Linked DNA regions of Homo sapiens: region 1 is linked to region 2. Evidence: promoter capture Hi-C in 16 types of primary human blood cells and fetal thymus (Javierre and others, 2016). All regions are on one chromosome and are shown on one strand. The core of a region is centred on a gene start or on the middle of the fragment in contact, and the rest is flanking DNA. Distances in the headings are between cores, read along the strand shown.

Region 1 (3,454 bases), core at 173-2,672, 350 kb before region 2:
ACCATGCCTGGCTAAATTTTTCTTTTTTTTTCTGAGACAGAGTCTTGCTCTGTCGCCCAGTCTGGAGTACAGTGGTGTGATCTCGGCTCACTGCAACTGTCACCTCCCAGGTTCACACCATTCTCCTGCCTCAGCCTCCCAAGTAGCTGGGACTACAGGTGCCCACCACCACGCCCAGCTAATTTTTTGTATTTTTAGTAAAGATGGGGTTTCACCGTGTTAGCCAGGATGGTCTCGATCTCCTGACCTCATGATCCACCTGCCTTGGCCTCCCAAAGTGCTGGGATTACAGACGTGAGCCACCACGCCCAGCACACCCGGCTACATTTTTGTATTTTTTAGTAGAGATGGGGTTTCAACATGTTGGGCAGGCTGGTCTCGAACTCCTGACCTCCAGAGATCTACCCGCCTCACCTCCTAAAGTGCTGGGATTACAGGCGTGAGCCACTGCGCCCAGCCCTTTGGCTCCTTCTTTATGAGTAGATAATGAAAAATAAATTTTTAACAAAAGAAATTCTCCTTTGGTATAAAATGATGCAAGTGTGTAAGACGGATCACCACAGATGATACTGCTTCCTTTGATTAGAACCAAACCAGAGGTGGCACAGGATGACCACCACGTGGCTACACAGACCAATCTCAGAGGGTCAGGGCAGCACACTGGGAGAGTCTCGTTCTCCACTAACATTGTCAGTGTGCCCTGAGACTGGGCTTACCCATCAGACTCACAAGAGACTGATGCTTAAACCAAATCTTGTTTACTTCTTTATAGTTTAAAGAGGCTGGCATACTTGTACTGTATCCCTGTGTACCTAACGTAAGAATATACTCATTTACCCTCCTAGCAAAAAAGTGAAAGCATTTGTTTCACTAGGCGCCTTCTATCATTCAGTACTAAAAATTAAGAGAATATTTAATACTTGACAGGTCAAAAATGGATTTCACTTAAGTAGGCTTCCTCTGACTATGAGGGCATCATTAATAGCAGGACACAGAGCGCTTTGACTCACTCTCTGGAGCTCTTCTCCCAACTCAGGCTGGCTCCGCACTTCCTTCCTCCAGGTACAGCCTTTCTGTATGCTGCAGGGGAGAAAGACACAAGGCCATCACTTCACTCCTGGCCATCCCATCTCTACAACTCATAGGCTAATGAGTGTCAGACAAACCCTGGATCTCAGAGTATCAATCTGATGGGCCCTTTTGGGGAAAAATTAACTATCTAAACATGTAGTTCTCTAAACTACAAAGCAACCCATGTTTTTTTTTTTTTTTTTTTTGAGACAAGGTCTTGCTCTGTCATCCAAGCTGGAGTGCAGTGGCACAATGCTAGCTCACTGCAGCCTCGAACTCCTGGACTCAAGTGATTCTCTTGCTTCAGCCTCTAAAGTAGCTGGAATTATAGGTGTGAGTGACCACGCCCAGCCTCCAACCCATCCTTTCTTCTCTGTCCTCACTGTATCTAACCTGCATTCTCTGTACCTCTTACTACCCTCCAGGAGTCTTTGGTTGCAGCTTCTAGTAACGATAATTATTCAGTATGAGTAGGTCAAGAATCTTTCTCTGGAAGCACCTCTGCCTCAGTGACTGAAAAAGAATTCTGTTGGGAGTTAACACAGACCAAGCCAGTTTTTGGTAACAGAATTAACATGTTGAAGGTACGTTTAGAGCCCTGAGCTTTTTTCTAATTAAAAGACTCCTATTAGTTTCAACTCAAGGCTAAATGAAACTAAAAAGACTCCTATCCAGCTAGAAGTTGTGCTAATTTCAAAACTGTGTGAGCCTCTTGTTCTTGCAGGCATGACTTGCAGCCATTGTCCCCTTATAAGACTGGAGACTAGGTAGCAACAGTTTTCTAACTGCTCAATCAAGCATTCTGAACACCAGTAAGAAAACCTCTTGCTGAAGTTGGGAGAAAGATAATCTTGCTTACCTAGGCCCCCTTAGTGTAGGTGAGAAGGCTCTGTGTCAGTTTCCGATCAGTATCAACTTCCCATGAAGGATACGGTAAAGGCGGTAAGAACCAGAGCCATACTTATGTTTAAGTAATAGACCTTAAAAGGCAGTACCATCTGGGAATGGAAAACACACCAAACGTAGTGAGCAATTCATTCTGGAAATCATGTTAAACATCGCCAGGGAAGATACCCCATTTACCTTGAAGTGATTACACATTGCATGCCTGCATCAAAATATTTCATGTACCACATAAATATATACACCTACTATGTACCCATAAAAATTAAAAATATAACTACCACTACCATTTTAACGCATAGTCTTCAAAAGCAACTTTGTTATTGTTTTTGTTTCATAACCAATTTTACTCCCAAAAATGAGTATCTTTCCGTTTCAATATACAGCTGCATCATCATAAAAATCACTAGGGAAAAGATATATACTTAAGAATAGGGGCCGGGGGCAGGGGCTCACGCCTGTAATCCCAGCACTTTGGGAGGCCAAGGCGGGCAGATCACAAGGTCAGGAGTTCGAGACCAGCCTGGCCAATATGGGGAAAACCCGTCCTCTACTAAAAATACAAAAATTCGCCAGGTGTGGTGGTACGCACCTATAGTCCCAGCTACTCGGGAGGCTGAGCCAGAAGAATTGCTTGAACCTGGGAGATGGAGGTTGCAGTGAGCAGGCCAGGTGCGGTGGCTCATACCTGTAATCCCAGCACTTTGGGAGGCTGACATGGGCGGATCACTTGAGGCCAGGAGTTTGAGACCAGCCTGGCCAACATGGCAAAACTGCATCTCTACTAAAAATACAAAAATTAAATGGTTGTGGTGGCATCTGCCCATCATCTCATCTACTCTGGTAGCTGAGGCACAAGAATCACTTGAACCCAGGAGGCGGAAGTTGCAGTGAGCAGAGATCGCACCACTGCTCTCCAGCCTGGGCAACAGTGAGACTGTCTCAAAAAAAAAAAAACAAATAATAAAGAGTAAATAGTGGTGATCTCTGGGTGACAGGAATGTGTTGCCATTTTTTCCCCTGTATTTTCTTTTTTTTTTTTTTTTCAGACAGAGTCTCACTCTGTCACCCAGGCTGGAGTGCAGTGGTGTGATCTCGGCTCACTGCAAGCTCCGCCTCCCAGGTTCACGCCATTCTCCTGCCTCAGCCTCCCGAGTAGCTGGGACTACAGGTGCCCGCTACCACGCCTGGCTAATTTTTTGTATTTTTAGTATAGATGGGGTTTCATCGTGTTAGCCAGGATGGTCTCGATCTCCTGACCTTGTGATCTGCCCACCTCAGCCTCACAAAATGCTGGGATTACAGGCGTGAGCCACCGCACCCAGCCTTTCCTAACTTTCTGAAATGCACATATACTACTTTTGTAATGATGTTAGTTTTACTATTTTTAAAAAGATAATTTTCAGAGAAAGCAGATGCTGGGCTATAGAAATAATTTCAATACAAACAGGTTGTAGTTGTTATTACTGGTACCATGTTA
Region 2 (3,610 bases), core at 847-3,346:
AGGCAGTGATGGTTTTCAAATGAAAAGTGACTTCGCCAAGGACACATGCAGCTGGGCTGTGGAGGGCCTAGTCTGTCTCCTTTTTCCATCCCTCGTTTATTTCCAGAGCTGTTCCTACACCTGAAAAGCGCCACTCCCCCTGCACACCCTGGCAGACAACCGGATTCGATGGCCCTGGCAGCCCGAACGCCAACAAACACCCAGTGTCTTTCTGAAGCGACCATAAGCCATTCGAGGAAACACGCACGGGGTCCTGCTTGTCCTGGCCTTGTCCCCAATGCCCAGGGCAGTGAGAGCAGCTCTACACGGAGGCCAGTCCCTGAGGCTTCCTCGGTGGCCTCAGACCTCGGAGTACACACGTGCAGTCCTTACCTCCCAAAGATAAACCTAACCTCTCACTCTGCTCTTCACCTACTTCAGACTGCTGTCCCATATATGGTCACCAGAGACATATGAGAACCACTAGAGATAGCCCCAAACTGAAAACTGCCCACGGGCTACCCATAGCAGAATGAATAACTGATGTAATGAGGAAAATCATTCAGCAACGAGAGGGAAAGAACGCTCGATGGCATGGAGTCCCAGCTGTAGTCCCAGCTCCTTGGTAGACCGAGATGGGAGGATCACTTTAACCCAGGAGTTTGAGTCCAGCCTGGGAGATATGGCAAGACCTTGTCTCTAATAAAATAAAATAAGTGGAATTGGGAAAATTACAATTTTAAAAGAAACAAAAATTTTTAGTAGAGATGGGGTTTCACCATGTTGTCCAGGCTAGTCTTGAACTCCTGACCTCAGGTGATTAAAGAGGCTGAGTGCGGTGGCTCATGCCTGTAATCCCAGCACTTTGGGAGGCCAAGGCAGGTGGATCACCTGAGTTCAGGAGTTCAAGACTAGCCTGGCCAAAATGATGAAACCCCATCTCTACAAAAAAAAAAAAAAAAAAAAAAATGAACCGGGCATGATGAGACAGGCCCCACGCCTCTCGCTTCCGAGACTGTAATGGCTGCCTGGTCCCGCCAAGGCCACACCCGCTCCGGCGCTACAGCACCCCGCCCCGCCCCGGACACGCCCCCTCCGTCCCTACAGAACCCCGCCCCGCCCCTTGGCCTTCAGGCCCACTTCCCTGGGGGCGGGGTTTTCTGGCCCCGCCCCTGAACAAACTATGGAGTGGGAGGAGCCCGCGACTGGGAGAGCGAGGCGCGGGACGCGGGGAATGCAGAGCAGACCAAGGAGAAAGACCGTCGTACGAAGGGAGCACTAGACAACTGAAGTAGGAACAGGATGAGCTCAGGTGTTAAGTGCAGGAAAACAAAGACCCGTCAGATGAGCCAGTCAGGAGGGTCCTGGCCCCAACGGACCGAGGGGTCTAGGCCGGGGGAACGGCCAACACCTGAGAGGTGGTCCTGGCTCCCCGGGGGCTCAGAACGCTCAGGAAGGCACCAGCTGCAGCCAAGGGCACAACCCAAGAAGGCACCTTAAGCACAGGGATGGAATTAGTTTGGGGCCAAACGCTGTTGGTTAGGTCACTTCCCTCCCGGGGAGCCCTTGCTTCGTCATCGGTAAAGTTGGGACAAAAGCCACCTGGCAGGACTTGGGAGGACTTTAGGTGACCGTGTAGATGGAGCAAACTCTGCCCCATCACATCCTCCTCTTCCATTTTTTCCTAGCACCGTCGCTGCTCCTTTGCCCTAGAATGTAAGCCCCTGAGAGCAGGGCCTCATTCCTTCAGTTTCTCTCTGTGTCCTTAGCCCCTGCTTTGTAACAGTGCCTGGCACACAGGAGGCCATTGCAAAGAGTAGTCACGTGAATGAAAAGCCTAGCAAAGAAGCCAGCACACTGTGGGCATTTAAAAATGGCAGCTCTTAGCCCAAAGGAAAGACGGGCAGACCTGCAAGGGGCACCAGGCCAGTCTTGATTTGGGAGGTGGTTACACTCTCACACAGGCTGGGATTGAAATCTGGATTTCTCACTTTGTCTTCATGTCACTGGCCCCGCCCTCTTCCCATCCCGCTCCCAAACTGGGAGCTTAAGGGTTAACTCTAGGAAGCCCCTCATCACCTGGATGGGATGGGACTGGGGCAAGGAACTTCCTGTTCCATTTTCCCAGAGCCCTTCCCCAGGCTGGCGGAGGCTGGCTTTGGCCCTGGAGTCCTCAGAAAACCCCCCAGCATCTCTGCCTGTGTAGTGGGGACTCCGAGTGGTGAGTTGGAGGGAGGTCGGGGTGCAGGCTGCCAGGACGGGTGCTAGGAGCTCGCAGCAGCTTGGAGAGAGCAGGGGAGGCTCCAGGCCTTGGTGCTGGGGTGGGGGCTGGAAGAGTCTTGGGAGGATGTAGAGGGTCTGCTGGGGAGCCTCGTGCCAGCCAGCTTGGTGGACCTGTCGCGATGGGGGCGTTGGGGACGAGGGAGATCGCAGAACTTCCTGTGACATTGAAGAAGGCTGGCTTCACGTGCTCCCAGGTGGACTGATGGGCCTTGTCCACTCAGCCCAGCACGCGGAGGGAGGCCCCTCCAACAAACAACAAATCAGGCAGCTGCCAACTGTGTCCAGGGAGAAAGGGAGTGTTCCCGGCTGAGGACCCCACCTTTGCCGCCTTCCCCAACTCTGGGCTCTCAGGTGACCTGGGTGGGTCTCGTGGCAGCACCTCCACCCCGGGCTCCAAATTAAGCTGCTCAAATGTTGGATGGTGGCTGTAGAGCCTCTGCCTGCCTCCCTACCCAGCCCACCCCCAACAGAGGTGCATATTAACAGAGCTTTTGTCCTGGAGATCTGGGGGGAGGGAGAGATTCTCTGAAGCCAACTTGTCTCGAATTCCACCTCTTTGAAACCTTTTGGAGAGATCTCACCTGGAGATTCCGGCCTCCCTGTGTGGCTTGCCCTGAGAGCTGAAATTTGGAATCTTCATTTTTTTTCTGTTTCATGCTGTGATATTTCGGCTAAGGCTAGGAAAATGGCACAGAGCAGGATGGAGATCAGTTCCTTTTCTGTTTCAGAGCTTTGGCACTGTGTTCTAGACCTACACTCTCAGCCTAAAGCAAACCTTGGCTCCACCTGGTGTGACCCTGAGCATGTCACCAAGTGCAAAGCTTGGTCTTTGCACTTGGCAAAGGGAGAAGTGATTGTTTCGTGCGTGGGCTGGACTGGGATGAAATGAGCTTAATCGCCAGACACTCAGTACCTGCCCGCTGCTCCTGCACGGCAATGGATGAGCAGTGATTAGTTTTCTTGTTATTTTGTGCATGCTACTAAAAACCAGTGAAACGTAATCCCATTTTCTTCCCCCTCCCCCACTCTTTTTTTTTCTTTTCTTTTCTTTTCTTTCTTTCTTTCTTTTTTTTTTTTTTTTTTTTGAGACAGGGTCTTCGCCTTTTATCCAGGCTGGTGTGCAGTGGCGCGAACATGGCTCACTGCAGCTTTGACCCCCCAGGTTCAAGCAATCCTTCTGCCTTGGCCACCCAAAATGCTGGGATTATAAGCATGAGCCACCGCATCCGGCCTCACAACACCATTTTTCTGATCATTTATCACAGACTTTTTCTGTCCTAGACGTTGTTACATGCTTTCCTTCGAGATGGCCAGAATCACTGCCATTCCCTAATTTCTGCTAACAGAC

What was found. The method cuts DNA at HindIII sites, captures the fragments that hold promoters and counts their contacts. A CHiCAGO score of 5 or more calls a contact.
Region 1: a fragment that was not itself captured here is called in contact with the fragment with the promoter of ZSCAN10 in region 2 in 1 of 17 cell types (naive CD8 T cells); the score reaches 5.6 in naive CD8 T cells.

Annotation. Positions count from the first base shown.
Region 1 is chr16:3,446,097-3,449,550 of GRCh38, reverse strand. It overlaps NAA60 (N-alpha-acetyltransferase 60, NatF catalytic subunit), which reads right to left. Exons shown (of 8, transcript NM_001083601.3): 2 at 1,011-1,080. Among named protein-coding and RNA genes, the nearest start is that of NAA60, 4.1 kb to the right of the region's middle. The HindIII fragment of the contact is 4,492 bases long and covers 1-3,454 here.
Region 2 is chr16:3,097,780-3,101,389 of GRCh38, reverse strand. ZSCAN10 (zinc finger and SCAN domain containing 10) reads left to right here and starts at 2,096. Exons shown (of 6, transcript NM_032805.3): 1 at 2,096-2,200. RefSeq lists enhancers at 1-39, 1,294-1,343 and a silencer at 1,074-1,133. The HindIII fragment of the contact is 16,276 bases long and covers 1-3,085 here.